Regions from separate parts of the Homo sapiens genome. Here all the other regions are linked to region 3. The links are contacts of gene promoters, found by promoter capture Hi-C in blood cells and fetal thymus (Javierre and others, 2016). All regions are on one chromosome and are shown on one strand. Each heading gives the region's core, a stretch centred on a gene start or on the middle of the fragment in contact. The rest is flanking DNA. Distances are from core to core; before and after follow the strand shown. Region 1 has its middle 72 kb from the start of LINC03042. Region 2 has its middle 110 kb from the start of LINC03042. Region 3 holds the start of FGFR1 (fibroblast growth factor receptor 1). Region 4 has its middle 92 kb from the start of LINC03042. Region 5 holds the start of LOC124901936 (a long non-coding RNA gene). Region 6 has its middle 110 kb from the start of TACC1. Region 7 has its middle 130 kb from the start of TACC1.

Region 1 (3,382 bases), core at 504-3,003, 130 kb after region 3:
ATATATATCACAGTTTCTTTATCCACTCATTAATTGATGGGCATTTGGGCTGGTTCCATATTTCCTGCAAGCTCATTTTTGATATGCAAACCAACCAATTCCAAGTCCATAGCCCCACCAGATCCCAAGGCCAGGACACTAATCCCCTGCCCTAATTGCCTGAGGGCCAGATACTGGACAACCACCTCTAAAGCCCAGAGCCTGCCAAAATTATTCAAATTTTTCATTCCTAGACCTGTTGGGCTGCTTACCCTTCCCTGCCTATTCCTTTCCAAGATAACCACACACAGGCTGTTACCTGTGTTTCTTCTTGACAGACCCTGGTGCTTCCCACGGGACCCTGGGTGGTAAGTGCACTTCCTCTGCTTGGGAACAGTTTGAATGGCAGTTGTCTCCTGATCTGCTGGTCTCATCATGCCTAAATAAATCCCAGGTACATTTTATTTTGTTATTATTATTATTTTTGAGATGGAGTCTTGCTCTGTCACCCAGGCTGGAGTGCAATGGCGCGATCTTGGCTCACTGCAACTTCTGCCTCCCGGGTTCAAGCGATTCTTCTGCCTTAGCCTCCGGAGTAGTTGGAATTACAGGTGCCCCCACCACGCCCACATAATGTTTGTATTTTTAGTAGAGATGGGGTTTCACCATGTTGGTCAGGCTGGTCTCGAACTCCTGACCTCAGGTGATCCACCCGCCTTGGCCTCCCAAAGTGCTGGGATTACAGGGGTGAGCCACCTCACCCAGCCAATCCCAGGTACATTTTAAAACAGACCCTGCCCTACTGATCTTTCTATTCCTAACTGTGCCTAATACTATTTCGTGCATGCAATGGGGTTTCCGTAAATATTTGGTGAATTGATTCTAATTGAGTTGTTTGAGCCCCATATGCCAGCAAATTTTATTTTGCTTTATTGATTTTTTTTTTATTTCACCTTTTTTATTGAATTTGTATTAAAGGAGGTAGTGAGGGGGAGGAAGCACTTAAGAGTCAGAATCCATATTAGACTCTGGGGAGTGAAAAATTAAATTAAATCAATAAGATGGGGAGTGGGGGAAGAGTCAGAGGGAACTTTGCCCACCTTTCAAGATCAAATCAAGAAATCAGGGAAAGCAAAGACTTAGGAGAGGAGAAAGACATTCTCTCAATCCATCCTCCTTCCCCAGGGCAGAGAATTAAACAACGTTACTGAGTGAGCCTCTGAGCAGAAGGCTCTCCCATCTATGCACAGACTTCACTCCTCCTCCCCAGGCCTTCCTGGAGAATGTCCAAGGCTGGCCTTAGCCAACAGAAATAGAGGGGTCAAGGGGGTCCAGGAGTACGGAAGGGTCAGCAGGGACCCTCAATACTGATTCTCCTCTGGCTGGAGGTGGGCGGGAAGCAGACATAGCTCAAATACTGAGCAGCCAAAAAAAGAAGAAGATGGCGAGAAACAGGAAGAGGGAATCCTGTCAGCTGGAGGCCGGGTGACCCTGTCCCAGATCCACACCTGTACCCCGGCGGAAAGGCTCATGGGCATTGAAGACGATGGTGAAAAAGCCAAAGGGAAAAGCACCAACACCAAATGAGAAGTGGAAGCCCCCGGTATCACCAAATGGCTGGAATCCCCCTCTGCTCTCTGGAGCTGGTCTCTGGCCCTGGGGGCGGGGTGGAGTTTTCAATCTGGGATCCTGGGGCTTCTGGCTCCCTCGCCCATAAAGCGGGACAACCTTCTCTCTGCTGATCCCAGCTTTACATACTGGACACTCTTGCCGTTCTGGCCGTGCCAGCCACTGATGAAGACATGGCCAACAGTACAGGTGGCCACACACACTGACCACAGCTTCCCGAGCAGTCTCCAAACATATATTACATTCGAAGGTCGCGCCCGCCCCGCCCCGCTCGCGATTTGGCCCCTCGGGGCCCCCGTCCTCCTCCTCCGCTGCTGCCATGGCCGGTTTTGTTTCGCCCCACGTACCCTTCAGTCCCCCCAAATACACATACACACGCCCCAACCTGCTTTATTATTACCAAGACGCTCCCACTCCTTCTCCCAACAGATTTCCATGGTGCAGCATCTTCCACAATGCTTTCTTCACACCTTGCCCTAGAGCAGTAACAAGCTCAAGAATTTGAGTGCCCATAGCATTTTTCTCCCTGGTCTGTGTCACTCCAAAAAGCCTCATTCTGTGAAATATATGGTGGAGCTGGCTTCTTGGTAGCCTGGCAGCCCTTACTCAGCCTTGCTTCCTTGGAGAAAGTTTCCTGATGTCTGACACTTGCAACCTGAGGGGAGGGATATTGAGATTGTCTGAGGATGGATGCCAACAAAGACCTCTTTGTGCTGCAGCCCATGTAGTTCTGTGTCTGGCTTTGGAGTGACGAGGGCTGGGACCTGTTCTCACCTGGGCATGTCACTGCTGCAGGAAGACGGCTGTCTGAGCTTGGGTCCCAAGCGCCGGATGAAGGGCACAGCCTAGCTGGTGGAGGCAGCAGCCTGCATGTGACACTTTTACAAATCAGGTTCAGAGAAACTCATTATAACTGGTTAGATGGAGGAGTCTGAACTGTTGAAGTGTGAGCTTGCAATGGTATGATTTATTTTCCCCAATTGCTGCTTTCATTTATACAGTGTAGGCCCTCTGTCCCGCTGCTTCACATCCCCTAATGCTTCCTTGGATGGGTGCCATGCCTCCCCTGTCACTTTTGGACATTCACACAGTCTCATTCCAGCAGTTAAGGCTTGGGCCTGTTCACATTTCCAAACTTCAGTCTTAAGCACAATGCAACACTCTGTCCTCCCTCCTCCTGGGCTGGTGAGAGCATTGGCTCCCAGCAACCCGGAGAACAGGAGGATGGTGTAGTCTGCCTCTGCAACCCTCCCTCCTTTTCTCTCTCTTCGATGGGGCTAGAGGGCAGGAAGGAGGGGTAGAGGCAGAGCTTTCCCTACCTGACCAGTCCCTGCCAGTGTGGGGAGACTTCCGGGCCTGGCTTTCTTGGGGGCAGTGTTCAGCTTCACCTCGGTTTCCTCCAAAATAAGGAACCCCCTCCAGGGTGGGCGGCAGTCTCCCTTTGGGTGCTTGTCCCCTCTGGTTTAGGTGTCCTACTACCCAGCTCTGTGGCTGTCCTGGAACTCCTGGTTCTTTTTTTTTTTTTTTTTCGAGACGGTGGTCTCACTCTGTTGTACCGGCTGGAGTGTACTGGCACAATCATAGCTCACTCCAGCCCCTCTTGGGCTCAAGTGATCCTCCCACTTCAGCCTCCTGAGTATGTGCACCACCACACGGTAGAGAAGAGGTTGCCCACGCTGCTATTGAACTCCTGGCATCAAGTGATCCTCCTGCCTCGGCCTCCCAAAGTGCTGAAATTGCAGGTGTGAGCCACCACGCCCAGCCACCACAGGCT
Region 2 (3,860 bases), core at 833-3,332, 170 kb after region 3:
GATTGGCTGTGATGTTGCCTTTGTCATGTCTGATTGTGCTTATTTGGATCTTCTCTCTTTTTTCTTTGTTAATCTACTTAGCAGTCTATCTTTAAAAAAAAAAACAACTTTTCATTTTGTTGATCCTTTTTTTGGGTCTCAGTTTCTTTCTTTCTTTCTTTCTTTCTTTCTTTCTTTCTTTCTTTCTTTCTTTCTTTCTTTCTTTCTTTCCTTCTTTCTTTCTTTCTTTTTTTTCTGAGACAGCATCTCACTCTGTCACCCAGGCTGGAGTGCAGTGGTGCAATCTAGGCTCAATGCAACCTCCACCTCCCAGGTCCAAGCGATTTTCCTGCCTCAGCCTCCCAAGGCTGAGGCCCAGCTAATTTTTTTGTATCTTTAGTAGAGATGGGGTTTCACTATGTTGGCCAGGCTGGTCTCGAACTCCTGTCCTCAAGCAATCCGCCCACCTTGGCCTCCCACAGTGCTGGGATTACAGGCGTTAGCCACCGTGCCTGGCTTTGAGTCTCAATTTCATTTCAGGAACTTGGCATTTAAAATCAGAAGGTTTCTTGGCAGGAGATTTTGCTTTGAATCCTGTCTTGCCTGTTTATCAAAAGTGTAACCTTGCAAAGGCCAGTTGGTCTTTCTGAGTCTCAGTTTCCTCATTTCTATATCGGGATTGTTGTGATTTTGTGAGATCACATGTGAAAGTGCCTTATAAATAAGGAATCCAAGACATTGTGGGTGGAGAAATTGCAAAATTAGTGAGTGTCATAACGAGGCCTCATTAAATCTGGCTAATGAGGTCTGGTTTCCAGGACTATTTTATGACTCTCTAGGTCCTCATGGTAGAAATGGAGAAGACATCTTTGGGGCCAATGTCTAGGTCTACTAGGAAGGTAGGCTTGTCCTGTCCCAAGGACAATGAAATATTCAGCCTTAAAAAGGAAAGAAATTCTGACATATGCTACAACATGGATGAACTTTGAGGATATTATGCTAAGTGAAATAAGTCAGTCACAAAAAGACAAATACTATATGAATCCATTTATATGACAGATCTAGAATAGTCAAATTCATGGACACAGAAAGCAAAATGGACTCATAGGAGGGGAAATAAAGAGTTATTGTTTAATGGGTATAGAGTTTCAGTTTTGCAAGATAAAAGAATCTTAGGGATGGATACTGGTGATTGTTGCACAATACCATGAATGTATTTAATGGCACTGAACTGAATACTTTAAAAATGGTTAAGATGGTAAATTTTATGTTGTGTGTATTTTACCACATTTAAAATAATAATAATAAATGAATATTTTTAAATGGCCACCCGAATTTTATAAGCTACTGCCCCACACAATTGGAATCTACTCTTGTACATATGGTATATAATAAAATATCATCTGATAATTTCTTTAAAGGAAAATCAAGATTAAATAAAGACTACTATGTTGGGCATGGTGGCTTGTGCCTGCAGTCCTAGCTACTTGAGAGGCTGAGGCAGGAGGATCACCTGAGCCCATGAGTTTGAGCTCCAGTGAGCTATGATCATGCTGCTGTGCTCCAAGCTGGGTGACAGAGTGAGACACTCTTAAAAAAAAAAAATCAAACATGTAGGAATAAATCTAACAAAAGAGGTATAAGATCTCCTTACTGCAAATTACAAAACATTACTGAGAGAAATTAAAGAAGAGATAGATGTTTTAGTCTGAATATTTGTTCTTTCCAAAATTCATGTTGAAATTGAATCCCTAATACAGCAGTATTGAGAGGTAAGGCCATTAAGATGTGATTGGGTCATGGCAGCTCTGCTCTCAGGAATGGATTAAGCTTTTCATGGATTTATAGGCTAATGGGCTAATGGATTAATGAGTTGTCATGGGAATGGGACTGGTGGCTTTATAAGAAGAGGAAGAGAGACCTGAACTAGTACACACAGCCCCCACTGTGGTATTCTATGCCACCCTGGGACTCTGCAGAGAATCTCCACCAGCAGGAAGGCTCTCATTAGTTGTGATCTCTTGACCTTTGACTTCTCAGCCTCCATAACGATAAGAAATAAATTTATTTTCCTTACAAATTACTGAGTTTCTGATATTCTGTTGTAAGCAACAGAAAACAGACTAAGACAGTAAATATATACCATGGTCAGGGATTGGAAGACTCAGTGCTGTAAAAAGTCAATTCTCTCAAAATTGATCGATAGATTCAATACAATTCCAATAGAAATCCAAGCCAGGTTGTTGTTTTTTTTGGTAGAAATTGACAAGCTGATTCTAAAATCTATGTGGAAATGGAAAGAGCTATGCATAATAAAGACACTCTTGAGGAAAACAAAGTCAGAGGAGTTATATGATCAGCTATCAAGACTTATCTTAAGCTTTGATAATTAAAATTGTATGGAATTGGTACAAAGACAGACATAAAGACCAACAGAACATAACAGGACCCAGAAATAGACCCACATAGACACAGTCACCCGGCTTATGGCAAAGTTATCACTGAAATGTAATGAGATGAGGGTGATCTTTTCAGTAAACGGTGCTAAGGTTAATTAGAAGTCCAAACAAAAAAAAGTAAATTTGGTCTCTAGAACATGCTATACACAACAATCAATTCAGGGTGGACCACAGACATTAATATGAAGAGTAATACAATAAAGCTTCTAGAAGGCAACATGTGAATATTCTCATGATATTAGAGTATGTGAAGATTTTGTAAACAGATCACAATAAAACCCACTTGTCAAAAAGGAATAAAAAACTGTGAAAATTAAGAATTTCCATTCATAAAAAGACACCATGAAAAGAATGAAAAGGCAATATATATTTTTGTATTGCATATATCTGACAAAGGACTCATCTTTAAAATATACAAAACACTTCTATAAATCAATAAGTAAAAGAAAGACAACCTAATGAAAAAGAACTTGGCAAATCAGTATAGGCACTTTACAGGAGAGGGTCTCTAAGTAGCCAGGAAGCATATGAAAAGGTGCTTGATGCAGCTACAGTGTGGAGTTAAGGTTGCCTTCTGGGACTAAAGCGCTCATCTCCCTAGCTTCTGGGAGCCTTCTCCTCCCCTGTGGTCCTCTCTAGGAACTGCCCTTGGCAAAAGAGAACTCTACTACCCAGTCATACTCCTTTCCAAGGACAACCTGCATTCAATGATGGGTCAAAACCACATTCAGTGATTGCTGTGAAGGCTTGGCCCCCTTGCCTCAAGGCAGGACAACTCTGAAGGGTCAGGCCAGCTCCTGAGTTCCCATGGGATCAGCGGAAGCCTATTGCAATGAGACGTCCATCCTGTTGCCTTCTGTCTCTGACAGGTGTCCATCTAAGGGCATTCCCCAATCAACTTCCTCATGCAAACCTCCATCTCAGTCTGTTTCTCAAGGGACCTGACCTGAGACAGTAGTCAACTTCATTAGTTATTGGGAAAATGCAAATTCAAATGACCATGGGTCTAAAATGACTAAAATTGAAAATATTGACAATACTAAGTATTTGGGAGGATGAGAAGTTGTGGGATTGTAAATTGGTACAAGGATTTTGGTAAATTGGCATTATTTACCAGAGTTAAAGGTACAGATACCCTGTGGCCCAGAAATTCCACTCTTGGGTTTATACCAAAATGAAATGTGAGCATATGTTCACCAAAAGACATATATAAAAATGTTCGTAGCAGCATTATTTGTAATAGCCCCAAACTGGAAATAACACAAACATCCATCAACAGCAGAGTGGTTAAATGAATTGGTATATCTATATGATGGAATAAACAAGAACAAATGCCATAATATCAGATGAACCTAAATATTGAAGAAAAGAAACCACACATAGAAGAGTACTGATATGGTTTGGCTCTGTGTCCCCACACAA
Region 3 (3,645 bases), core at 225-2,724:
AACGGTCCTTCCGCCCCCATCCCACACCTCGGCTTAACGACCGTGGGTTGTCCTCCCGTTCCCCAAACTTCCGACCCTTTCAGAGACCGTCCAAGTCATAAGATCACCCCTTCTGGAAAGGGGAGTCGTTTTTCGCTCTCAGCTCAAGCAGATTCAGCCATTTGGTGACGACACCTCCTTAAAACCTATTCCAAGAGAAGCTAACCTAGCCCTCCACGTCCTCCGCAGTTCATCTCCCACCCCATCCGACCCCAACCCGCACCCCAGGCTTTCCCGGGGGTGGAAAAGGACTTAGGAATGCCCCGGATTTTTAGCGTTGAGCCCAAAGCTACCTGCTGAATTGGGGGTGAATCCCCAAAAGGGGACCAAAAAGACATGGAGTGGAATGCAACACACACACATAACACACACAACGCATCCCACCTCGCCGCCCACTCCCGCCCTCCTCCCCAGTCCAGGAAACCGCGGGCCTCGCCGCCTTCGCCCCGGGCCTGTCCCTCCCGGGACTCACTGAGGAGCCGCCGCCGCCTCGCCAGCTCCCGAGCGCGAGTTGGAGGAAAAGTTGGGCGGCGGGAAGAGCGGCGGGACGAGCGCAGGGAGGGGGCGCAGGAGACGCGGACGGAGGGAAGGGAGGGGAGACCCAAGGGGCGCGGATCGCCCGGGAGGGAGCCAGGAGGTGAAAGGGGCGGGCGGCGAGCGGAGGGAGGCGCCGGCCCCGGCTGGGCTGCGGCGGGCAAAGCGCGCAGCCGGGAGGCTCCGGCGCCGGGGGCCGCTCGGGACGCCAAGCCCGCCCCAGATCCGGGGGCGCCGCGGCTCTTACCTCGCTCGGCGTGGAGGTTCCGCCTCGGGAGAGTCCGCCGTGGCTTGTGCGAGCGGGCGTGTGCCCGCGTCCCCGGCTCCGGCCCGCCGCCCCCGGGCTCTGTTCGGGTCCTGGCGGGGTCGCAAGAGCTCCGCGGCCGGCGCTCGACTCCCGGCGGCGCTCGGTGCTCGGCGCCTCCAGCCCGGGCGGGAACAATGGAGCCGGAGCTGGTGCCCCGGAGGCGGGGCGGGGGGAGGGCTCCCGTCCGCCACCCGGGGTCTCCAGACCTTGTGCCCCCCTCCTCCAGAACGCAGCGGCGGCGCCTCACTTTCCTTGCAGACCGGGCTCCATCGCCCTGCGGAGGCCCCGGCGCCGCGGCGTGCCCGACTGCAGCACGGGTACCGTGCGCCCTGCGGGGCGCCCCGAGCTCGGACCGGAGAAAAGTCCTTGGGTTCCGCGGCTTTTCAAGCAGCGGCGCGCTCGCGGCCGGGGAAGGCGAGGTCGCCGCAATGCGCTACGAGGGGTCTCGGTCCCGTCCGGACGTGGCCGCCCAGCTCCCGGCACACCCGGGTTCCTCCGCGCGCTGCGGCTGCACCGGCGTCCCGGCTCCCGCTAGCTGCCGCCCGCCGCCGAGGACGCCGCGCCTGTGGCCGCAAGAGCGCTCCGAGCGCTATGCGCCGGCGGGGCGCGAGGGCTCGCTCTCTCACTCCCACCCGCGCTGGTCCCTCCTCCGCCTCCGCCCCCTGCAGCTGCCTGCTGGGCCTTGTAGTTCCCCAGCCGCGGCCCCAAAGGACGGGGAGCGGGCCGAGCTGTCCGGCGCTCTGCCCTTCTCTTCCTACAGCCTGGTCTCCTTTGGCGTTTGCGCCCCTGCATCTGAGCACGTCCCAGAGGGCGCCGGAATGTCAGGCCCTAGACATAGCAGCGGTTTGGGGGCTAGGGGGCAGGTGAAGAGACGCCGCAGCCTTGAGGTTGTACCTGGTAGCGTGGGCTTTGGAGTCTGTGCGCCTTGGGGAAATGATTTTCGCGCTCTAAATCTCTGTTTTCCCATCTGTAAATGGGGGATAATAGTGCTTTTCACATAGAGTTGAGGCGTCAACGAGGGCCTAGCGCATAGTTAACACTTAGTAAATACAAGCCGGTTTTATTATAAGGTCAGCCCCTCCTCAAACCCTTCCCTTGGATTTCAGCTTTCCCCAGCCACATAATTTAGGTTTTGTGGTCCACCGGGAACTGGACCCTGTAAATTCTACAGCGATGCTGTTGGCTTCCAGAAGTCTCCAGCCTGCAGTGAATGTCTAGGAAGCAAAGAGTAAGCAGTGGGAGTTGAGGGGAGACGTGTGGTTGGTTTGGAAATTAATCACAGCCCACTCAGAACACCCTCCAGTACTGTGGAACACAGGAAAGTGGCTAAAATGCTTCCCCCTGAGTCTTCCCGCGAAGTGGTATAATGTAGTGGTTCCCTAATCCAGATGGACACGGGTCCTAGGGAACGTCTGAAAAATACAAGTTCATGGGCCTGCTCAGACATGAGGAATCACGCTGTCCCAGGAAGGAGCCAAGAGCCTTTATTTTTTCCAAGGCTCCTTGGGGCGTGTGATGTGAGCCCAGGCTGAGGCCACCATTGGGGTGGGAAGTAGGCAGCACTTGGTCTGAAGGATTCCTCCATTCTGTCCATCATTTATGAAGTTTGATGTAGGACAAATCATGCATCTGATAAAATCAAAACGGGGTATCTGTTGATACTCCTTCACAAGATGGTCATAAGAATCAAATAAAATAATAGCTCTCAGTGGACCAAAAATATTACACAAATGGAAGTCACTATGAAAGGTAGTGGCAGGGCCTGTTCCCTTACCATCACCCACCTCAACCCCGAAACTTGTAGAAGTTTGAATACTGAATGAGATCCCCCCACCCAACTCCTCACCCAACCCACCCACGCCTCCCTGGCTAATTTAAGAAAAGAGTTGGCCGGGTGCGGTGGCTTATGCCTGTAATCCCAGCACTTTGGGAGGCCGAGGCGGGTGGATCACGAGGTCGGGAGATCGAGACTATCCTTGCCAACAAGGTGAAACCCCGTCTCTACTAAAATACAAAAAAATTAGCCAGGCATGGTGGCGCTTGCCTGTAATCCCAGCTACTGGGGAGGCTGCGGCAGAGGAATCGCTTGAACCCGGGAGGCGGAGGTTGCAGTGAGCCGAGATTGTGCCACTGCACTCCAGCCTGGCAACAGAGCAAGACTCCGTCTCAAAAAAAAAAAGAAAAGAAAAGAAAAAATGGTCCTCGCGCTATTTTTCTAATCCACCAGTAGGTGACAGACTAGTGGCCAACACAGTGTTATTCACATAGTAGACACTCATGAAATCCCTTGACTGGCCAAAGAGCAAATATTCAATAAGTATTTGTTGAACAAATGAGTAAATAAACAACTAAATTACAGCTCACGCCTGTAATCCCAGCACTTTGGGTGGCCGAAGCGGGAGGATCACTTGAAGCCAGAAGTTCAAGACCAGCCTGGGAAACAAAGTGAGCCCTTGTCTCTACAAAATATTTTTAAAAATTAGCTGGAGGTGGAGGCTGAAGAAGGAGGATGGCTTGAGCCCAGGAGTTTGAGGCTGCAGTGAGCTATGATCCAGCCACTACACTCCAGCCTGGGCGACAGAGTAAGACCCTGTCTCAAAACAAAATAATACAAAACAAAAAATGAGAAACAAGAACTCATATCTTTGTTGAATAAATGAACTTCAGCCACTGTTTATAGGGTTTTCCCCTAAGAGCCACCATTTAACCTTTCAGCTCCTGGTCAAGCTTGGTTTATACTCCTATGTAAGCTGCCCACCCATTAG
Region 4 (3,415 bases), core at 54-2,553, 150 kb after region 3:
CAGAGATGTCGTCCAGTTGGACTGGGAAAGTCAAATGTGAGTTGGCAGAAGTGAAGGCTGCAGAAACATGTTGGATACAGACTTGGCTCCCAAGGCTGAGAATTACAAAACTGGGGAGCAGGGTGAAGACTCCAAGCTCAAAAGAGGCAATTTTAGGACAAATTTTTTAATTTTAATTTTTATAGATTTAGGGGATACAAGTGAAGTTTTGTACATGAATACATGGTGTAGTGGTGAAGTCTGGGCTTTTCACGTAGCCATCACCCAAATAGTTTACATTGTACACAGTAGGTAATTTCTCATCCCATCCCATCTCATCCCACCCCCCCCCATCTTCCACCTTTTGGAATCTCTATTGTCTATTATTAATTTTAGGATGAATTTTTAAAAAAGACAACTTTTCACAGTGGGCATTAAATTAATGGAACTCCTTACTTTCAAAAGCAGTTAGGTTAAAAATATAAATAGTTTTGTCTATGTATTAATATATTATATCATATTTACTGAGAGCTTATTATATGCTAGGCACCATGTTTGGAGATGGAGATTCAGAAATTAGTAGAACATGATCAGTTCCCTCATATTCCAGAAAGAGAGACAGACATACTGACTAATCCATCTACATGTGGTTATCGAGTCCTGTGTGCAGATCCTGTGCTGTTTCCTGTGCTAGTTCTGCAGATTGAGGAGTGAGCAAAATAAACTTGCTTCCGCTCTCCTTGAGCTCACAGTTTGTTGGAGAAGGCAGATATTAGATAAATAACTAACTAATCATAATACATGATTGATTATTCATAGTGTTGTAAGAGAGAGGTACAAGGAGCTTTAGAAATAGATATAAAAGGGAGTCATTTTCTAATCTGGGGAGCCATAAAAGACTTCCTTGAAGATTTTAGGCTTAAGCTGACAAAAGGAGGCTGAAGATGGGTGAGGTTGGCACATACAGGGGAAAAATATTCATAGAAGAATCATCACGCAGCAAAGGGATGAAGAGAACTATTTGAGGAACTGAAAGACATCCAGTATGCCTGTGTTGGAAGGAACAAGAGGGCAAAACCAGGCTGGAGAAGGTCCTACTCTGTCTTGCTGTGCACCCCAGGAGGGTGATCACTGAGACTATGCCTCCTGGGCTCCCTTGCCCTCTGGCTTCCAGTTGGGTCTGGGCGATGGGAGGCATGAGTAGGAGATAAGAGAACAGAGGGAAGAGAAGCCATGACATTTCCCCTCCTGCTTTCTCCCTGCCTGGGTGCTGAGTTTCTGGTGGTGCCTGTATTCTACAACAGCAGTTCCTGTTGGGTGGCCCCGTTCCCATGGTTCCAACTTTGCTGGTTCTTGTAGCACCTTTTTCCCTCTGCCCATTCAGGCCTAGGAGTCACAATGGCTTCCCACATTTGCTAATCCTGGAATGCCTTAACTTCTCTTTTTATTTCTTTTAACCTTTGTATATAGTCTCTTTATCAAACTATCCTTGAAATCCTGGTTGAGGGTGCTGTGATGGTTAATTTTATGTGTCATCTTGACTGGGCCAAGGAGTGCCCAGACAGCTGGTGAAACATTGCTTCTGGGTGTATTTGTGAGGGTGCTTTTGGAAGAGATTAGCCTTTGAATTGGTGGACTGAGTAAAGTACTTGGCCCTCCCCTGTGTGAGTGGGCATCATCTAGTCTGTTGAGGGCCTGAATAGAAGAAAAGGTGGAGGAAGTGTGAATACATTTTCTGCCTGATTGCTTGAGCTGGGATACCAGCTCATGATACCTGCCCTCAGTGCTCATGTTCTTAGGGCTTCAGGCTCAGACTGGAACCTGCACCACTGGCTCTCTGACTCTCAGGACTTTGAAATATACCGCTGGCTTTCCTGGGTCTCCAGCTTGCAGATGGTAGATTGTGGGAGTTCTCAGATTCCATAATCATGTGACCCAATACCTTATAATAAATTTATTTATAGATATATCTTATTGGTTCTATTTCTTTGGAGAGTCAAATGTAAGTTGGCAGAAGAGACAGGGTTTTTCCATGTTGGCCAGGCTGGTCTGGAACTCCTGACCTCAGGTGATCCACCCTCCTGGCCTCCCAAAGTGCTGGGATTACAGGCACGAGCCGCTGCACCCAGCCACAGTATCTTATAAAGCGAAATATATACTTACCCTATGACCCAGCTATCCCACTCCCAGAAATTTACCCAAGAGAAATGAAAATATATGTCCTCACAAAGTCTTGTATGTGAATGTTCACAGCAGCTTCATTCAAAATAGGTCAAAACTGGAAAGAACCCAAACTTCACTGCTGAGTGGATAATCAGATTGGGTATACTCATACACTACTCAGCAATAAAAGTGAATGAAATTATTAATACATGCAACATAAATGAATCTCAAAAATACCATACTAAGTGGAAGAAGTGAAAAACAAAAAGACAGCACGCTGTCTGATTCCATTTATATGAAATCTTAGAAAAGGCAAAACAGAGCAATCGTAGTTGCCTGGGTAGGGGTAGGGAGAAGATATGGACAGCAATGGTTGCATTAATAAAGTTTTTATGGTAATGGAAACATCTATATCTTGATTGTGCTCATGCTTACAAGACTGTGTAAAGTTACTAACATTTCATCAAACTACCCAATTAAAATAGGTGAATTTTGTGTATAAAACTATACCTGGCTGCGGTGTGCCGAACAGAATGGAAGTGCGCATGAATGGACGGAGGGAGGCCAGTTGGAAGGTCTCTCCTCCCCACCACCCCTCATTACAGCATTCCCTTCCCAATAGCTTTGCAGCTTGGGAGTCTGCCCTAACAGAGTTGGGGGAACCTGGTTCTTTTCCAACTGACTGTCATACAAAGGACCAAATCACCACTCTCATCTCCATCTCCGTCTCCCTGGCTGGTTCCCAAGGATGTTATTAGGATAACTGAGATCTTGTCTACAAAGAAATCCCAGTTCCATGGAGACAAATATTCACTAAGCCCAAGGAGGTTAAGCAGCTTATCCATTGCAACTTTATTTCTTTAGCCCCTCTGTGTTCCTGTCTGCAAAAGGAAGGGCTGAACTACACAGCCTCGAAGGATCCTTTGAGCCCTAACAGCTTGTGATTTTAAGTCCAATGCAGGTTTGATTTGAGTTATTATTTATAGTCTTCATGTGTATGCTCCTCTGCAGGAATGCCCTCTCTTCCTCAGCACCCGGTTGCATTTACTCAGCTTCCAAGGGCCAGCTGAAGTTCCCTTCACACTCCATGAAGCCCCTTCTTACTATTCTCAAGTTCCACTGATCTGGACTCCTCTTGCAGTGACAGCCTGTACTGAATCATCCAGCACTTCCATATGATAGAATGCAAACTGCTTTGGGCTGTTATTATGTATATAATAATGATATTTTCTCCTCAACCAGTTTGCAAGAGCCTTGAAAGGCTTCTATTTCT
Region 5 (3,438 bases), core at 248-2,747, 230 kb after region 3:
CAAAGATGAACAGCCCAGTTGAGTGCTTTACAAATTCCTGGTCCACAAGATTATGAATGAGCCACCAGCTTTTCAGTTTGTTTGCTACACAGCAATAGGTGACCAGAACATACTTTATCATCAAAAACATTTTAATAATCTTTGCATATGTATTTGTTATATACTATCCTGTTTTATTATGTGCATTAGAAAACACATTACTTATAAGGCACATGTATTATGTTCATTATAAAACACATTTATTATATTTTTACATTAAAAAGGGTTAACTAGAAATAGAAGTTCTAAGATTTTCTTTTCACAGACCAGTGCTTTATTTTGAGGATACATACATTTTGGTGACCATTGGTCTAGAATAGATGATACTTTGAGACCCAACTCAATGCCAACAGATAATCTCCTAATATTAGTGAAATATTTGAAAATTGGAGCATGTATAGATAGAACCAGCACATGCTCTAACAGGAAAAAATTAACCTCATATCTATGGACAGCCAAATTTGACCCAAGCAAGGATACACAAACTTAATTTTTGCCACTTCTATACAGCTCTCTTTTTAAGGCCCACAACCAACAAGTAGGGTTTTTTTGTTTGTTTGTTTGTTTGTTTGGCATGGGGTTAAGAGTGATTCATTCGATTCTTGCTGCAGCCTAGGGAGAATTAATTGTTTTATTTTATTTTATTGAGACAGCATCTCACTCTGTCACCCACGGTGGAGTGCAGTGGTGCAATCTCGGCTCACTGCAACCTCCACCTCCCGGGTTCAAGCGATTCTCCTGCCTCAGCCTCCTGAGTAGCTGGGATTACAGGTGCATGCCACCATGCCTGGCTAATTTTTGTATTTTTGTAGAGATGGAGTTTCACCATCTTGGCCAGGCTGGTCTCAAATTCCTGCTCTCAAGTGATCCACCCGTCTCAGCCTCCCATAGTGCTGGGATTACAGGCACGGACCACCGCGCCCAGTCAGCCTAGGGAGAATTTAAATGTATTAGTCCAAAGCCAGTTCACAATATATGAATATTGTTCCAAGTCAGTAAATAAAATTCCACATCATTATTTTAATAAATACATGGTATTCCAATTGGTGGACAGATAATTTTTTTTTTTTTTTTTTGAGACAGAGTCTCTCTCTGTCGCCCAGGCTGGAGTGCAGTGGCATCATCTCGGCTCACTGCCAGCTCCGCCTCCTGGGTTCAGGCCATTCTCCTGCCTCAGCCTCCCAAGTAGCTGGGACTACAGACACCCGCCACCAGGCCCGGCTAATTTTTTGATTTTTAGTAGAGATGGGGTTTCACCGTCTTAGCCAGGATGGTCTCGATCTCTGACCTTGTGATCCGCCCGCCTCGGCCTCCCAAAGTGCTGGGATTACAGGCGTGAGCCACCGCGCCCCGCCAATTTTGTTTTTATGTCATTGGATATTCAGGCTGTTTTCCAACTTCTGGTGATTAAACAATCATTCTCATAGCTAAATCTTTGCATATCTCCTTATTTATGTAATTATTTCTTTCAGATGCATTCCTAAAAGAAGAATGGTTGATTATAGACAAACAATGGATATGAATAAGCATTGTCAAATTTATCTCCAGAAGGTTTGCACCAGTTTATAATTTCTCCAACAATGTTAATTACCCAGCACCCTCAGCAGTAGTTCGTACTGTAACTTAAAAAATAATTTTTGGGCCAGGTGCAGTGACTTACGCCTGTAATCCCAGCACTTTGGGAGGCCAAGGTAGGCAGATCACCTGAGGTCAGGAATTCAAGACCAGCCTGGCCTACATGGTGAAACCCCATCTCTACCAAAAATACAAAAATTAACTGGGCTGGTGGTGGCGGGCACCTGTAATTCCAGCTACTCGGGAGGCTGAAGCTGGAGAATCACTTGAACCCAGGAGGTGGAGGTTGCAGTGAGCCGAGATCATGCCATTGAACTCCAGCCTGGGTGACAAGAGTGAAACTCTGTTGCAAAAATAATAATAATAATAATAATTTTTGTCAACTTAATATAAAGACTGTGCTAGACATATACACATGTATTTCATGTATTATACACCCTTTGTGCCTATTTTTCATATTTACTTTTATAAGCTGCCTCTTTTTTGTGGGAAGGAATAAAGCATACTGCAAATAAACAGTTTTAAAGAAGTATTTCCTAATTCTTGGAGAGATAGAAATGGCAGTTTTATTAGTCAATAACTCCTTTCATTTGCAAGTATCACAAACACGACTCCAATTGGCTTAAGCCAAAAAGGAATTTCTTGGCTCACTGAAGAGTTTCAGGCACAGCTGGACTCAATGGTTCAAATAATAACATCAGGACTCTCTCTGTCTCCATGTCTCAGCTTTGTGGCCTCTGCTCGCCTTCATTTCCAGACAGACTCTTACTTCATGGCAGCAACGACCTGGAGAAACAAAAGAGCGTTAACAAAAGGCCCAAGAAAACTGATTGGCCAACTTAGGTCATGTGCCCCTACCTGAGCCAATTGCGGTGGCCGGGATCATGGAAGATTGACTGACGAGGTCTTCGTTCCATATCTTTAGTAGAGGACAAGGTGGGTTTCACCACAGCCAAACTAAGCGAGTAGTATTATAGAATTAGGGGCTGGGAGATTCCGTAAGGAAGGAAAGCTGGACAGACGAAAAAAACAAAAGCATATCTCCACTTGAACAGATCTGATAGATTTTGACCAACCCACAGCTCTTTCTGGGTTCTGTAATGAAAGGCAATCGGATGCAATGGAAATCCTGTCTAGGAGCCGGGAAACCTAGAATTAGTCCTACCTTGGTCACTACTACCTGTAGTAGCTCTCTAAGCTCAAATATCTCATTCTGATGAGATAGGGAAAGATAAATGCCCACCTTACCTAAAATGATTCTGGTAAAACTTCAAATGAAATTATGAATGCAAAAATGTCAAGAATAAAGGATCATGCAAATATATGTTGCATGCAAATAAAAATAAAACTTGGAAATCTGTATTTCCCATTGTGGTTTCACATACCTTCCCTTTGAGAAACCAAGAGAAAAATCAGTGCATTGTGGCTCTGAGGCCCATACCTCGCTTAACCTTGGCAGTTCACTTTAACTGTGCTCGAAGTCATGTTGAAATGTCCTCAGGAAACAGGAAAGGGTAGCAGCTAAAAGTTGAAAACAGTACTGACGTCACACTATGCTAGTTTCTTTCTAGGAACATTTGTATCCTGTCTGTCTTTGCTTTCCAGCTAATTAACAAGCCCGTGACCTTCCTTAGCACGAGGATGACCACAGTCCAGCGTGGAGCAGCAGGAAGTGGACGGCCATGGAATTGCAATCCAGCTGCGTCCCAGCTCGGTGGAGGGCCAGAGCAAGAAGCCAGGCATGGGGGCTCTCTGAGAAGCTGAGCACTTCTGGATGGGAAATTTGTTTGAAAATAGTCATATGCAGGCAAGGGGTGAGCACGT
Region 6 (3,396 bases), core at 46-2,545, 210 kb after region 3:
TGAATGAAGAAGTACGTTTTGGTGGCTTTAAGCTGGCCATCCCCTAAGAAATGCCAGCACATGCCAGTGATAATGAGGAGGCTGGAGGGCTCAGCTGCTGGTCCCCTTTCTGCACTGGGACCCCCAACTCTATCCTGCATCGTAAATCTAGGGGAACGTGAATCCCCTTTCTATAAAAATGATGCTCTTCCTCAAGGCATGTTAAATATCTGGAATGGAATAGACATGGTCCTGAGAGATTGCTTTTAAAATAAAATTTAAAAGCCTTTCTATATTGAATCATTTGTATATCTTGAATAATTTTTTCCTATTGACTTGTATTTACATGTTTAGATATAATGGGAATGAGATTGTCAAAATAAACTAAATCACGCTTCAAATAATTCAATTAGCACTTTTAAAAACTACAATAAATGAAACTATGAAAACAATCCCACTCAGATGAATGAATCAGAGATGTCCAACATACGGCTGCAATCCAGTGGAACCCTCCAATCAACAGGGGACAATGGCTCTTATTGAATCTTACAGATGCTACAATTAAAACTTACATTGTGGCTGGGTATAGTGGCTTATGCCTGTGATCTCAACACTTTGGGAGGCCAGGGCAGGAGGATTGCTTGAGCCCAGGAGTTTGAGACCAGCCCAGGCAACATAAAATAAAAAATAAAAAACATAAACAACATAAAACAAAAAGTAAAAAATAAAAAATAGCCAGGTGTGGTGGCGCATGGGCCTGTGATTCCAGCCACTCCAGAGGCTAAGGTGGGAAGACTGCTTGAGCCCAGGAGGTTGAGGCTGCAGTGAGCCATGTTCATGCCACTGCACTCCAGCACTCCAGCCTGGGCAAAAGAGTGAGGCCCTGTCTCAAAAAAAAAAAAAAAAGTTATATTGCATCCTCTGAAACCTGACATGAGGGCACTCTGAGTAACTAATATTAGAGAAAAAGATATTTTTATACAAATAAGTCTAATAGAAAAAAAGCACTTAAAACAGTGTCTGGCACAGAGAAAATACTCAGTAAACACTTTTACTGGAATACTATTTTAACAGGAAAATGTGGGCTCATGGCCCTGCCCTCGGTACCCACTATGTGTGTTCAGACTCTATGGCTCTGAAGATACATGGCTCCTGGTTTAGTTAGGGATAGGAGACAGAGCCTAAAAAGAAGGAATAATGCATTTTGGGGTGTGGGGTGTGAGGGGAGAGGCTGAGATGTTTTCTGAAGGAAGAGATCTTCAATCTGAGTCCTGAAAAATGAGAAGGTGTTTCCTAGATGGACCCAAGAGTAGGGCTTTTCCAGGCCGAGAGCAGAGCTTGCATATGAGTGAAGGTGGGAAAGCAGTTGGAAAATAGTGGTGGAAAGAGAGGGTATGTTTCAGGGAAGTTGGACAAATGATGCAACTGGAAGGTAAGCAGGGATCAGGTACTGGCAGACTCTTAGGTCCCACTTTAAGGACTTTGGACTTGATTCAGTGGAGCTGCAGAAGGGTTTTCAGCACAGGGTGTGTTTGCATGTGTATTTGGCATATTTGGGCTGTGTTGAATGACCACAAACATTAAGGCTTTCCAGGGGTTAAAGGACAATTCCGGAAAGGAGCAGAGATTAGATGAACGAGTTGAATAATGGACATGATCCAAAGGCACCCAATAATCTAGGAGCTACTCAGATAGCTAAGACAATGGAGAAAGACGTTAAGGAAGGGGAATCTTCTAGGAAATGTTGCTAGGGGCGGAACCGTGGAAACTGATGAATGTTAGCTCCTTCCTCTGGGTTGGGGGCGGATAGCGAGCTCCTCTCACAAGCCTTTATTGAAGTGCAGTTGGTTTGAGAACTGGGAGGTGTAAATAGCTCCGCAGGTGATTGTGATACATATTAATCGTACTGCTCATTTGTGTTGGGGGCACAAAAGAGAAGGGAGAGATGAGACGAGAACTCATATCACGAGCTTGCTAGGCAGAGGTGACTCCCACATGAGAAGCAGTCTAGAATCTAGAACCTGGGCCACGTCTAACCTGGGCAAAAGCGGCCTCCATGCATCTGCTCCCTTGATTCATGGATGGTCTACATCCTGATCAACTCTCACCCCAGCAGGGCAGTAGCTTTTTGCTCTCCTGAAAACAGCCATGTGTGTGTTGTGCACAAAGCCAGGGCAGAGGAAGGAGCCCTGAGAACAAGCATGGAAGAGCTGGGTCCAGCCATCACACTGCTCCTTACTGGCTGGGTGGCCACGAGCAAATCACTTGACCTCTCTGAGCTACAAGATGATAACTTTTTAAAAGAAGGCAATGGAATCTGCCCCAGCTCCCTCACCCGGCTATGGCGAGGGTGGCTAAGGGGAGGGAAGAACTGCAGCCTGTGTTGGTGGCAGGCTCCAGAGTGGCAAGGAGGACAAGCAACTCCAAGTGAGGTCAGAGCTCAGTACCACTGTAAGACCTGCATGTGATTAAACATTAAACAGTAGCTGGGTGAGGTGCCTCACGCCTGTGATCCCAGCACTTTGGGAGGCTGAGGTGGGAGGATTGCTTGAGGCCAGGAGTTTGAGACCAGCCTGGGCAACATAGTAAGACCCTGTCTCCACAAAAAAAAATTTAAAAAAACAAGCCAGGCATGGTGGTATGCTCCTGTAGTCCCAGTCATTCAGGAGGCTGACAGGGAAGGATTGCTTGAGCCCAGGAGCTGGGGGCTGCAGTGAGCTATGGATCATGCCACTGCACTCCAGCCTGGGTGACAGAGTGAGACCCCATCTCTAAAAAAATAATAATAAAATAAAATAAACAGCAGAAAGGGCACAAGGGGATTTCCTGGGACCTTCGATAGGGTCTATAGTCTCAGGTGGTAGTTAACTGAAAGTATACATTTGTCAAAATTCATTGAGCTGGCTGGGTGCGGTGGCTCACGCCTGTAATCCCAACACTTTGGGAGGCTGAGGAAGGCAGATCACCTGAGGTCAGGAGTTCGAGACCAGCCTGGGCAACATGGTGAAACCCTGTCTCTACTTGAAATAAAAAATTAACTGGGTGTGGTGGTGCACGCCTATAATCCCAGCTACATGGGAGGCTGAGGCAAGAGAATCACTTGAACCCAGGAGGCAGACGTTGCACTGAGCTGAGATCACGACACTGCACTCCAGCCTGGGCGACAGAGCAAGACTCTGTCTCAAAAAAAAAAAAATTCATTGAGCTGTAGGCTTAAGATTTGTGCGTTTTACTGTATACTGATTATGCCTTAATTTAAAAAAAAAAGAAACAAGAAGATGAAAACATCTGCATTGAGAGTGGCTAGCTGTGCTTTCATCCATGGCACACGCGGCCATAGCAAGGCCACAGGGAAGGACCACTCCTCAGAGCCGAGCCCGGGGCTGCTGGGTTCTGGGCCGCAGCTCCCTCCCCAGA
Region 7 (3,711 bases), core at 500-2,999, 190 kb after region 3:
AAAAGGCACAGGTTTCCCAAGGTCATTTTGGATAATCAAACATCCAGTGGGGACACATTAACCTTGGTAGACTCAAGCCGAGTGAAAAGCAGGCAGAGGTGGAGTGGGGCCAGGTTGCCCTCAGTGGGATTCTAATCTGAGAAATTGGTGTTGCCACTTAGCAACAGCAGAGTGCAGTTGATTGGCACCCCTGTCTATTATCACCAGCACTGGGCTGAATACAGCATCCCAAATCACTGAGGGTTGTATGATTTGGTGCTAAGGAGCAGACTAGAATCAGAACCCTATGACTTACTAGTGTGTATGGATGACATTGTGCAAGGCCAGTGGCCCTTCTGCTCTGTAAGCAGACTTGCTTCCCATGTCACAATGGTTTCACAAATGCTGGAGAGATTTAAAAGAAAGTTCTGCTTGTTAGGAACCATTTCCTCTTGAAGCATTAGTGTTCACTTGGCCAAATGCACACAACCAGCCCACAGTGTACAGGAACAAGGCTTCCAACAGCCTCATGAGTTAGTGGGCAGCTCAGTGCAAGAAAGGCTGCATCATTAGCCCGAGCTAAATGCAGCAGGCAGCCTCTGAGCCTCGGCCTAAGAGCCAGCCTTCTTCCCCCAGCTGGGATCAGCAGCTGCCTATGGAGTTTTGCTCTGGACTTGAGTGATGATTCATCTGACCAAGTTTTTTCCTTGCTGACTCCTCAAATTCCCAGACTATAAAAAGGAGGATTTAAGGAGGGTCTCGAAGTCAATCAGTCAGTGAATAACTCTTGATTAAACAACCACCTTGTGTCTAGCAGAAGGCTTGCCACTGTGGTCCCTTCCAAATAAAAAGAAGACATATGTTCCTTTCTCATAAGGAGCCTACAGTCTAGTTGGGGAAGCCATATAAGTATATGCAGAACAATAAAAAAGTGATAAAGTGCTGAACTATATATAGTGTTGGTTCTAGATGCAGGTGAAGTTGCATTTAGAGGCTGGCACTATGCATGGAAGGTTCATGAATGGAGTGGGCTGGAAATGCTGGGTCCACTGGAGATCAAAACGCAGGCAATATAAAGTGTGCAAAGTTTCCTATACTGTGATCAAGTTGGAAAAAAAAAAAGCTAAATGTAAGTCTCATAGGTTGAATTGTCTTTCCTTCTGGCTGTTTACCAGATTCTGTACAGGATTGAGGGCTCACCAAAACTTTCACAGCATGGTAGCCATCCTCCAAGATGGCTCTGGTGGGGACCTCTGCCTCCTGGCATTGACACGGTTGTGTTATTCTCTCTCACATTGTGCCAGGGATGGTCTATATGACCAATTAGAATACGGCAGAAATATTGGTATGCCAGTTCTGAGATTAGGTTATAAAAGATACTGTGGCTTCCACAGAGATCTGAGTCTCTCTTTGTCTCTGTGCCACTCTGTCTTTCTCTCTTACACTGGGCAAAGCCAGATGCTATATGCAGCCCAATGGAAAGAAACCATATGGAGAGGCCCACATGGCATGGAACTGAGACTTCTACCTACAACCATGTGAGTGAGCTTGGAATTGAATCCTCCAGCCCCAGTCAAGCCTTCAGATGACTGCAGTCCTGACCAATAGTTTGACTGCAACTTCATGAGAGACCTCAAATCAGAATCACCCAGATAAGCTGCTCCTGGGCTCCTGACCCACAGGAACAATGTAAAGGAATATACATTTGTTGTTTCAAGCTGCTATCACTGAGCACTCTTCTTTTCTGGGCCAGCCCCAACTCTGTAGTCCAGTCTACAGCTCAGGCTGTGCTCTGTCTTCTTCAGGTTCAGTAGAATGATGACATCTGATTGCAACACTCTTCAACCTGGGGTCAAATTCATAGCAGCTCTTTCAAATTCAGGACTGCCAAAACTTCTCTCAGTAATCAGATCAGACTCTGCTGCCACAGTGGGTTTTCAGGAGTAGTCAGAGACTTCCCTGGCTGTGGGTACATCGCACAGCACCAATGTGTACTGTACAAGCATGAGTCTTCAGCCTGCTGATTGGACAGGAATGTGTAGTCTTCTATGTGGTTTGTGAAAACCACAAGCTGGAAAAAAAATCTGCTAAGGAATGAATGGCATCTCCACCTTCCCTGCAGTAGTGGACATGAGAACATGAGATGTTCATTCAGAGACCTTTCAGCGGCTTTTGCAGTTGCAAGAATGGTCTGAATCAGAAATTGTGAAGCTGCCCACAGACATTATGGTGAAATCCTGCCATTGGTGAAGCACTTGCTGAACACACAGTTTTCTTTTGGCCAAAGTTGAGAACCAGTGATGTTCTCAAAGTGACTGGGCTGTGTGACACTTTGAGAGGATGGCAAAGAAGCAGATTGGGAAACACTAGTGGACTGTTGGGGAGAGGAGAGCCATGGTTCTGTATCATGGACACTCTGACTTCATGGGAGCACAGTTGGCTTCTCTTCCCAGTATTCTCTGTTTTGGTGAGAGGCAAGACCATCACTTAGTTTTTTTAAAGACATGGGAAGGAATTGTTTTGGAGCCCTCACAAGTCTCCATCTCCTTATTATGTCATTGAGTCTTGTAGAGAACCTTCTATTTTTCCAACCCTTCTCCTCTCCTCCATCCCTACTGCAATTGTTTAGTTTGGGCTTTCATCATTTCTTGCCTGGATTATCACAGTTGCTTTATACCTGAGAATCAGAGTTATCATTCCATGGCAAAGATCTGATAAGTGTTGCAGAAAGTCAGAGACCCTGAATGGAGGAACTGGCTGGAGCTGCAGCAGAGGAACATAAATTGTGAAGATTTCATGGACATTTATCAGTTCCCAGATAATATTTTTATAATTTCTTATGCCTGTCTTTACTTTAATCTCTTAGTCATGTTATCTTCGTAAGCTGAGGATGTACGTCACCTCAGGACCACTGTGATAATTGTGTTAACTGTACAAATTGATTGTAAAACATGTGTGTTCGAACAATATGAAATCAGTGCACCTTGAAAAAGAACAGAATAACATCGATTTTTAGGGAACAAGGGAAGACAACCATAAGGTCTGACTGCCTGCGGAGCCATATTTTTCTTCTTGCAGAGAGCCTATAAACAGACATGCAAGTAGGAGAGATATCGCTAAATTCTTTTCCTAGCAAGGAATATTAATATTAATACCCTGGGGAAGGAATGCATTCCTGGGGGGAGGTCTATAAACGGCCGCTCTGGGAATGTCTGTCCTATGCGGTTGAGCTAAGGACTGAAATACGCCCTGGTCTCCTGTGGTACCCTGAGGCTTACTAGGATTGGGAAACTCCACCCTGGTAAATTTTTGGTCAGACTGGTTCTCTGCTCTCGAACCCTGTTTTCTGTTAAGATGTTTATCAAGACAATACGTGCACCGCTGAACATAGACCTTTATCAGGAGTTCTGATTTTGCCCTTGCCCTGTTTCCTCAGAAGCATGTGATCTTTGTTCTGCTTTTTGCCCCTTGAAGGATGTGACCGACTCCCTGTTTGTACACCCCCTCCCCTTTTGAAACCCTTAATAAAAACCTGCTGGTTTTGCAGCTCAGGTGGGCATCATGGTCCTACCAATATGTGATGTCACCCCTGGTGGCCCAGCTGTAAAATTCCTCTCTTTGTACTCTTTCTCTTTATTTCTCAGCTGGCTGACACTTATGGAAAATAGAAAGAACCTACGTTGAAATATTGGGGGCAGGTTCCCCCAGTAGATAAGGTAATACCTTTACTCA

What was found. Contacts are between HindIII fragments. The CHiCAGO score rates a contact against its expected background, and 5 or more counts as called.
Region 1: a contact is called between a fragment that was not itself captured here and the fragment with the promoter of FGFR1 in region 3, in 3 of 17 cell types (M1 macrophages, M0 macrophages and M2 macrophages). The highest score is 8.8, in M1 macrophages.
Region 2: a contact is called between a fragment that was not itself captured here and the fragment with the promoter of FGFR1 in region 3, in 4 of 17 cell types (M0 macrophages, M1 macrophages, M2 macrophages and 1 more). The highest score is 9.3, in M0 macrophages.
Region 4: a fragment that was not itself captured here is called in contact with the fragment with the promoter of FGFR1 in region 3 in 3 of 17 cell types (M0 macrophages, M1 macrophages and M2 macrophages); the score reaches 10.0 in M0 macrophages.
Region 5: a fragment that was not itself captured here is called in contact with the fragment with the promoter of FGFR1 in region 3 in 5 of 17 cell types (M0 macrophages, M1 macrophages, M2 macrophages and 2 more); the score reaches 24.5 in M0 macrophages.
Region 6: a fragment that was not itself captured here is called in contact with the fragment with the promoter of FGFR1 in region 3 in 5 of 17 cell types (M0 macrophages, M1 macrophages, M2 macrophages and 2 more); the score reaches 16.2 in M0 macrophages.
Region 7: a fragment that was not itself captured here is called in contact with the fragment with the promoter of FGFR1 in region 3 in 4 of 17 cell types (M1 macrophages, M0 macrophages, M2 macrophages and 1 more); the score reaches 13.1 in M1 macrophages.

What each region holds. Positions count from the first base shown.
Region 1 is chr8:38,599,272-38,602,653 of GRCh38, forward strand. It overlaps the pseudogene RNF5P1. Among named protein-coding and RNA genes, the nearest start is that of LINC03042, 72 kb to the left of the region's middle. The HindIII fragment of the contact is 7,404 bases long and covers 1-3,382 here.
Region 2 is chr8:38,638,001-38,641,860 of GRCh38, forward strand. No RefSeq gene overlaps it. Among named protein-coding and RNA genes, the nearest start is that of LINC03042, 110 kb to the left of the region's middle. The HindIII fragment of the contact is 550 bases long and covers 1,808-2,357 here.
Region 3 is chr8:38,467,161-38,470,805 of GRCh38, forward strand. FGFR1 (fibroblast growth factor receptor 1) reads right to left here and starts at 1,475. Exons shown (of 18, transcript NM_023110.3): 1 at 821-1,475. RefSeq lists silencers at 758-877, 888-1,017, 1,288-1,357 and enhancers at 1,215-2,201, 1,638-1,807. The HindIII fragment of the contact is 10,295 bases long and covers 1-3,605 here.
Region 4 is chr8:38,618,836-38,622,250 of GRCh38, forward strand. No RefSeq gene overlaps it. Among named protein-coding and RNA genes, the nearest start is that of LINC03042, 92 kb to the left of the region's middle. The HindIII fragment of the contact is 6,514 bases long and covers 1-3,415 here.
Region 5 is chr8:38,698,482-38,701,919 of GRCh38, forward strand. It overlaps LOC124901936 (a long non-coding RNA gene), which reads right to left and starts at 2,695. Exons shown (of 2, transcript XR_007060892.1): 1 at 2,473-2,695; 2 at 2,155-2,400. RefSeq lists an enhancer at 2,843-3,343. The HindIII fragment of the contact is 7,618 bases long and covers 1-3,438 here.
Region 6 is chr8:38,678,900-38,682,295 of GRCh38, forward strand. No RefSeq gene overlaps it. Among named protein-coding and RNA genes, the nearest start is that of TACC1, 110 kb to the right of the region's middle. The HindIII fragment of the contact is 5,437 bases long and covers 1-3,396 here.
Region 7 is chr8:38,658,207-38,661,917 of GRCh38, forward strand. No RefSeq gene overlaps it. Among named protein-coding and RNA genes, the nearest start is that of TACC1, 130 kb to the right of the region's middle. The HindIII fragment of the contact is 7,512 bases long and covers 1-3,711 here.